Linked DNA regions of Homo sapiens: region 1 is linked to region 2. Evidence: promoter capture Hi-C in human tissues and cell types (Jung and others, 2019). All regions are on one chromosome and are shown on one strand. The core of a region is centred on a gene start or on the middle of the fragment in contact, and the rest is flanking DNA. Distances in the headings are between cores, read along the strand shown. Region 1 has its middle 44 kb from the start of LINC02644. Region 2 holds the start of ZEB1 (zinc finger E-box binding homeobox 1).

Region 1 (2,833 bases), core at 158-2,657, 550 kb after region 2:
GTGGGGACTTGGAGAACTTTTACATCTAGCTAGAGGATTGTAAATACTCCAATCAGCATTCTGTGTCTAGCTCAGGGATTGTAAACGCACCAATCAGCACCCTGTCAAAATGGACCAATCAGCTCTCTGTAAAACGGACTAATCAGCTCTCCATAAAATGGACCAATCAGCTCTCTGTAAAATGGGCTAATCAGCAGGATGTGGGTGGGGTCAGATAAGGGAATAAAAGCAGGCTGCCCGAGCCAGCAGCGGCAACCTGCTCGGGTCCCCTTCCACACTGTGGAAGCTTTTTTCTTTTGCCCTCTACCATGACTCTTGCTTCTGCTCACTCTTTGGGTCCACACTGCCTTAAAGAACTGTAACGCTCACCGTGAAGGTCTGCAGCTTCACTCCTGAAGCCAGCGACACCACGAACTCAGCAGGAGGAATGAACAACTCTGGACGGGAGGAACGAACAACTCCAGACGATCCGCCTTAAGAGCTGTAACACTCACCGCGAAAGTCTGCAGCTTCACTCCTGAAGCCAGTGAGACCACGAACCCACCAGAAGGAAGAAACTCTGAACACATCGGAACATCAGAAAGAACAAACTCCGGACACACCATCTTTAAGAACTGTAACACTCACCGCGAGGGTCTGCAGCTTCATTCTTGAAGTCAGCAAGACCAAGAACCCACCAATTCCGGACACAATGGGGTTGCATTTGAGGCAACTTTATAGCCCAGTTTAAATGTAAATGAAAGCATTATAGGTTAATCCTTGAGGTCTATCAATAATATAGATCTTCAGTTCTAGAAAATCCAAGCTGGGCTCTGAGAGTCGTAAGTCAACAACATTGCATACAGAAGAAACAGAGAGAGAGAGAGAGAATCACCAAACCGAAGAATGACGGATGGACTTCACTGTGGTATGAAGGTAAAATATAAAACGAAATTAAAAAAAAAAGAGTGACCAAGCCCCAGGTCTGCGTGTGCCCAGCTCAGCTTTCCACTGGGGCTCCAGGGGGTGCCCCTCACTGGGGAAGGTGACTCAACCTAATAGACCCTGCTTTGATCGTTGAGGAACCGCATACATGGAAGTCCAGCAGCAGGGGTTTGAGAGCTGCAGGCAGGAAGCAGAGAGCTAGGGAGCAGGTAATGAGATGGGGTTCCTGCTATGGGCTGGGGTTTCCAGCCCCCCTGAGCTGTTCCCACGGGAGGCCCCATGTGAAGCACCACATGGAGGTTGCCCCGGGGCTGGGGACCTTTGTGTAACCCTGCCACGAAGTCCTCTTCTGTTCCATCACTCTGTACTCTCACCTTATGTTTTTCTTGTAGCTCTCTGGCTGCACCAATTTTTTTTTGAGACAGGGTCTTGCTGTCACCCAGGCTGGAGTGCAGTGACACAATCATAGCTCACTGCAGCCTCAAACTTCTGGGCTCAAGTGATCCTCGTGCCTCAGCCTCTCGAATAGCTAGGACCACAGCAGGCACGCCCCTCTCCCTGCTAATTGTGTGTGTGGTGTGTCTGTGTTTGTAGAGATGGGAGCCTTGCTATGTTGTCTATACTAGTCTGGAACTCCTGGCCTCAAGCGTTCCTTCTGCCTTGGTCTCTCAAAGTGCTGGGATTACAGGTGTGAGCCACCATGCCCAGTCCTGCACCCAATTTTATCTGCTCTTCTGTTCTTCTAAATTAATGCTAATCTCGGTGTCCAAGCCACTGTTTAGAAATGATGATTACACCAAGATTCCAAGTCACGGCCTATGTGAATTCCACTGTGGAGGAGGGTGATCACATGCAGGAGACAATCCCTGAATGCTGTTTTAGCCACTTTGGCCCAGAAATTCCCTGTTGCACACTCTCCATTTGCCAGAAATTTGGTTACTTGTTTAAACTCTTAAGTAACTGAACTAAATGGATTCTATTACATACAATCATAATTGCTTCAAATTAAACAATAAAAACGTTTTACTGTTTTTCTACACCCTAGGTATTATAAAGAAAGTGTAAAGCAAAGGGTGCCAGTTTAAGCGCCTGGAGCTAAGGTTCCTTTTGGGGAGAAAAGCTGGAGTTGTCAAATATGCAGATGCGAGTGGTGGTTGTTTTTCCCTATTGTGGAAGTGTGACAACCCAGGACTGTGGCCACAAAGGAAAGATGGAGGAGAACGAGGAGGCGGGAGAGCTGTTCCTGCTAGCAAGCGGTCGCGTTAAGAATTGGCCCACAAGTCTGGTCTTTATTTTGCCTTCATAATTTTTTCCTAAAATGAACAAATGCCCTGCTATAGAAATGCCAAGCATTTTCCAAATGACATTTCAGGTGGAGTCCATTGAACTGCATTTCTGAAAAAGTACTTAAAACCGAACTTCAGAAGCAGATGTCAGCATTTTGGACCCTCCTGACATGATTAAAGGTGCAGGTGGCAGCTGGCGCTGGGGAGGGGACAGGGCGGGAGCTGGCACAGGCCAGGAGGCAACACGGTTCATCATTCTCCCTAAAACAACCAGCACAGTTAAGGAAGTTGGGGAAAGAAGGGCCATAAACTTGAAAACACACATTTTTACTTAAAATTAGGTGTGAGCTCCCATTATAACAGGTAAACAAATGATCCCAGGCTGCCACTGCTGAAGAAACTCCCCTCCCTCTGCCAGCTCTGTGCTGATGCAGTGACCCTCTTGGGCTGCAGCAGATGAGCCCATGTCTCTCACTCTCCCTTGGGTTGGTCTCCCAAATCTGGATTATGTCCAGGGATCTCAAGCTCCGATCATTCTCTCTGGATCTCTGGGTCTCAGACAGAGTGTGCAGTGGAGCCCCAAAGCAGTCACATGTCACCTTGGGTTGGGGAAGACCAAGGGT
Region 2 (2,968 bases), core at 163-2,662:
GTCTCTCTTTTTTTTTAACTCTCACGCCAGGCAGAGGGGTGTGTGTTTCCCTTGGCACAGCAGCACAAATCAATAAACACTGCAGCTGCGGTGCAAGTAGCAGCCCCGCGCGTCCGTCGGTCCGTCCGCCCCCTCCCCCACCCTCCTTCCACCCGAGACCCAGAGCGCCATCCAAGCCCCATTATCCGGCTTCAGCGCTCCGTGCGTCCGGCCCAGGTAACAACTTCCCCAAAAACCGAAAGAGAAAAGCGCGAGGCGCACGCACACCGGCCCATCCCGGCGCAGAGACCTCGTCTGCCCCGGGAGGGGGATCTGTCTGTGGTGCTTCCCGGTCTCTAAGCCCAGGTAACAACTCCGCAAACACACCCGCCGCCCAGCTCGCCCCCATCCGCGCGGCTCCCGGCGGCGTTAAGTGGGTACCTTTCCTGCCTTGTTCCCCGCGCCGCCCCGCCGCGCCCCGCCAAACGTGGACCCCACTCGCGGGGCTCGCCGCGGAGTCCCCAGGCCGGGGCTCTGGGCCGGGCAGCGGGAGGCGCCAGGGAGGAGGGGCGCTTAGGGACCCGCGCCCCCGCGCCTCTAATCCCCGTTACGCGAGCGCGCCCGGCCCGCGGGTCCCAACTTTACCGCCGCCGGCCGAACCCTGTCCGCCCGCGGCGCGCACAGCCGGCGCCCGCGCACACGCGCGCACAAACCCCACGCAACCCGCGGCCGCCCCGTCCCGCCGCCGCCGCAGCCCGCCTGCCGCGCGCCCACAGCCCGGCCCGAGTCGCGGGGCCCGAGCGACAGCGACGGCGCCGGCCGGGGCCGCGGCGCGCGGAAGCCACTTTGCACGGTCAGCGCCGGGCACAAGTTTGTTCCGCGGCTCCCGGGGGCCTGGGCGCTGAGGGAGAATCGCGCTGAGGGGGCCAGGAGGAGGGGGAGAGGGAGGCGCCGAAGGGCACAAGAGTGGGGAAAAGTGCGGAAAGAAGCAACAGCCGCTCCACCCGGGACCAGAAAAGTGGCCAGTGCGTCCCGGCCGCCCGCCCTGCGCCGGGGATGCGGCGGCGTCGGCGCCGGCTAACGGTCCAGGGAGGCGGCAGGGGCGGCGGGAGCCGCTAGGCGGAGAGAGACCAGGTAAGAGACATAACGGTTCAGGGAGAGCGAGCGGCCGCGGCGCGGCTCCGGCAGCGGCGGCAGCGGAGGGGGGCAGAGAGCACTACTTTCTACTTTCCCACTCCACTTTGCCGTCCCTGCCCCGGCTGCCCCCAGCCCGGCTCGCCCCCCTCACCCCCGGGGGCGCCCCGGCTGCCCAGCTCCCCCTGACTCCGCCGCTCCCCGGTCCCCTCCGCCACTCACCGTTATTGCGCCGCGGGTTCGCCTGCTTTCTGCGCTTACACCTGGGGCCATCCGCCATGATCCTCTCGCTTGTGTCTAAATGCTCGAGTCACCTCCTCCCCCTCCCTCCCCCTTCCCCCCCACCCCTCCGCCTCCACCCCTCCCCCCTCCCCACCGCACCTGGTTTACGACACTCCCGGCTTTACGACATCACCTTCCTTACACCTAGAGGCTCTCGCTCTACGGCCGGAACCTTGTTGCTAGGGACCGGGCGGTTTGCGGCAACCGTGGGCACTGCTGAATTTGAATTGAGGGGCGAGGGAAAAGTTTTCCTCAGGTGTGGTGGGGAGAGGGAGGCGGATGCCGGGAAACCGTAGGGACGCGGTCAGAAAGGCGACGGGCTGTCGGAGTTGGAAAGGTAAAGTTGGAGGCTCGGCGGCGTCCTGCCTCCGCGCTGGCCACACCCGCCGCGGCTGCCCGGGGCAGGGAGGGATCTGGCTGATTCTCCCTGTACCCTGTGCCCTCGGAGCTGCCCCTCCGAGCGCCCAGAGGTCCCCGCCTGCCTGCTTCCTGGAGGCAGGGCTACCATCAGTCCCACGCCTCGCGTGTCCGCCCCCCGCACCCCGGGGCCAAGGAAAGGGATCGCGGTCTGGACTCCCCGGGGAGTTCCCTTGATGAGGGGAAGGGCAGGTTTGGGGACGGCGAGGACACGCGGCGACCGGAGAGAGGCTACCTGACCCGCGCAGCCCGGACTCCCTTCCCTTCCCTTCCAGGGACGCCTGGTTTCCCCCCAAGCGAACCGGGATGGGAAGTGACTTCAATGAGATTGAACTTCAGCTGGATTGAAAGAGAGGCTAGAAGTTCCGCTTGCCAGCAGCCTCCTTAGTAGAGCGGAATGAGTAATACCCACACGGTGCTTGTCTCACTTCCCCATCCGCACCCGGCCCTCACCTGCTGTCACCTCGGCCTCCCACACCCGGTCCGCGCTCCCCGCCCTCTTCCTCGCGTAGAACCGTGGGATCCTAGGTGGCAGGACTCAGAGCTAAGGTATCCACAGGCCATGAATTCCTTCCTAAATGAGCGGTCATCGCCGTGCAGGACCTTAAGGCAAGAAGCATCGGCTGACAGATGTGATCTCTGAACCTGATAGATTGCTGATTTTATCTTATTTTATCCTTGACTTGGTACAAGTTTTGGGATTTCTGAAAAGACCATACAGATAACCACAAATATCAAGAAAGTCGTCTTCAGTATTAAGTAGAATTTAGATTTAGGTTTCCTTCCTGCTTCCCACCTCCTTCGAATAAGGAAACGTCTTTGGGACCAACTTTATGGAATAAATAAGCTGAGCTGTATTTCAAGTAATATAGTTATAAATTAACAATGTAGCAGTTATTGATAGAGAAATTGAGAAAACTGAAACGTGACCGGAGTATTGGAAATAACGTAGTACATCACCTAGCACAATGACACATAGTAGGTGCTCAATAAATTTATGCTTATAATTTTTGTCACTTCTATGGCAGGATTTTTTTATTAGGTTAAAATTATCTTTTAAACACCTTCCGGAATTTTAGAATATTCATTAATAATGTCTTCAAACCTTTCAACTGAAATAAATTTACAGCTGAAGTCTGATGATTTAAAGTTAGAA

Evidence for each region. The method cuts DNA at HindIII sites, captures the fragments that hold promoters and counts their contacts. A contact is called where the count stands out against the background at its distance.
Region 1: a fragment that was not itself captured here is called in contact with the fragment with the promoter of ZEB1 in region 2 in 3 of the 25 tissues and cell types used here (H1 embryonic stem cells, dorsolateral prefrontal cortex and lymphoblastoid cells).

The regions. Positions count from the first base shown.
Region 1 is chr10:30,766,223-30,769,055 of GRCh38, reverse strand. No RefSeq gene overlaps it. Among named protein-coding and RNA genes, the nearest start is that of LINC02644, 44 kb to the right of the region's middle. The HindIII fragment of the contact is 5,112 bases long and covers 1-2,833 here.
Region 2 is chr10:31,317,660-31,320,627 of GRCh38, reverse strand. ZEB1 (zinc finger E-box binding homeobox 1) reads right to left here and starts at 1,412. Exons shown (of 9, transcript NM_001174096.2): 1 at 1,336-1,412. The coding sequence starts at 1,393. It overlaps ZEB1-AS1 (ZEB1 antisense RNA 1), which reads left to right and starts at 1,533. Exons shown (of 3, transcript NR_148979.1): 1 at 1,533-1,732. RefSeq lists silencers at 838-927, 968-1,417, 2,158-2,217. The HindIII fragment of the contact is 10,097 bases long and covers 1-2,968 here.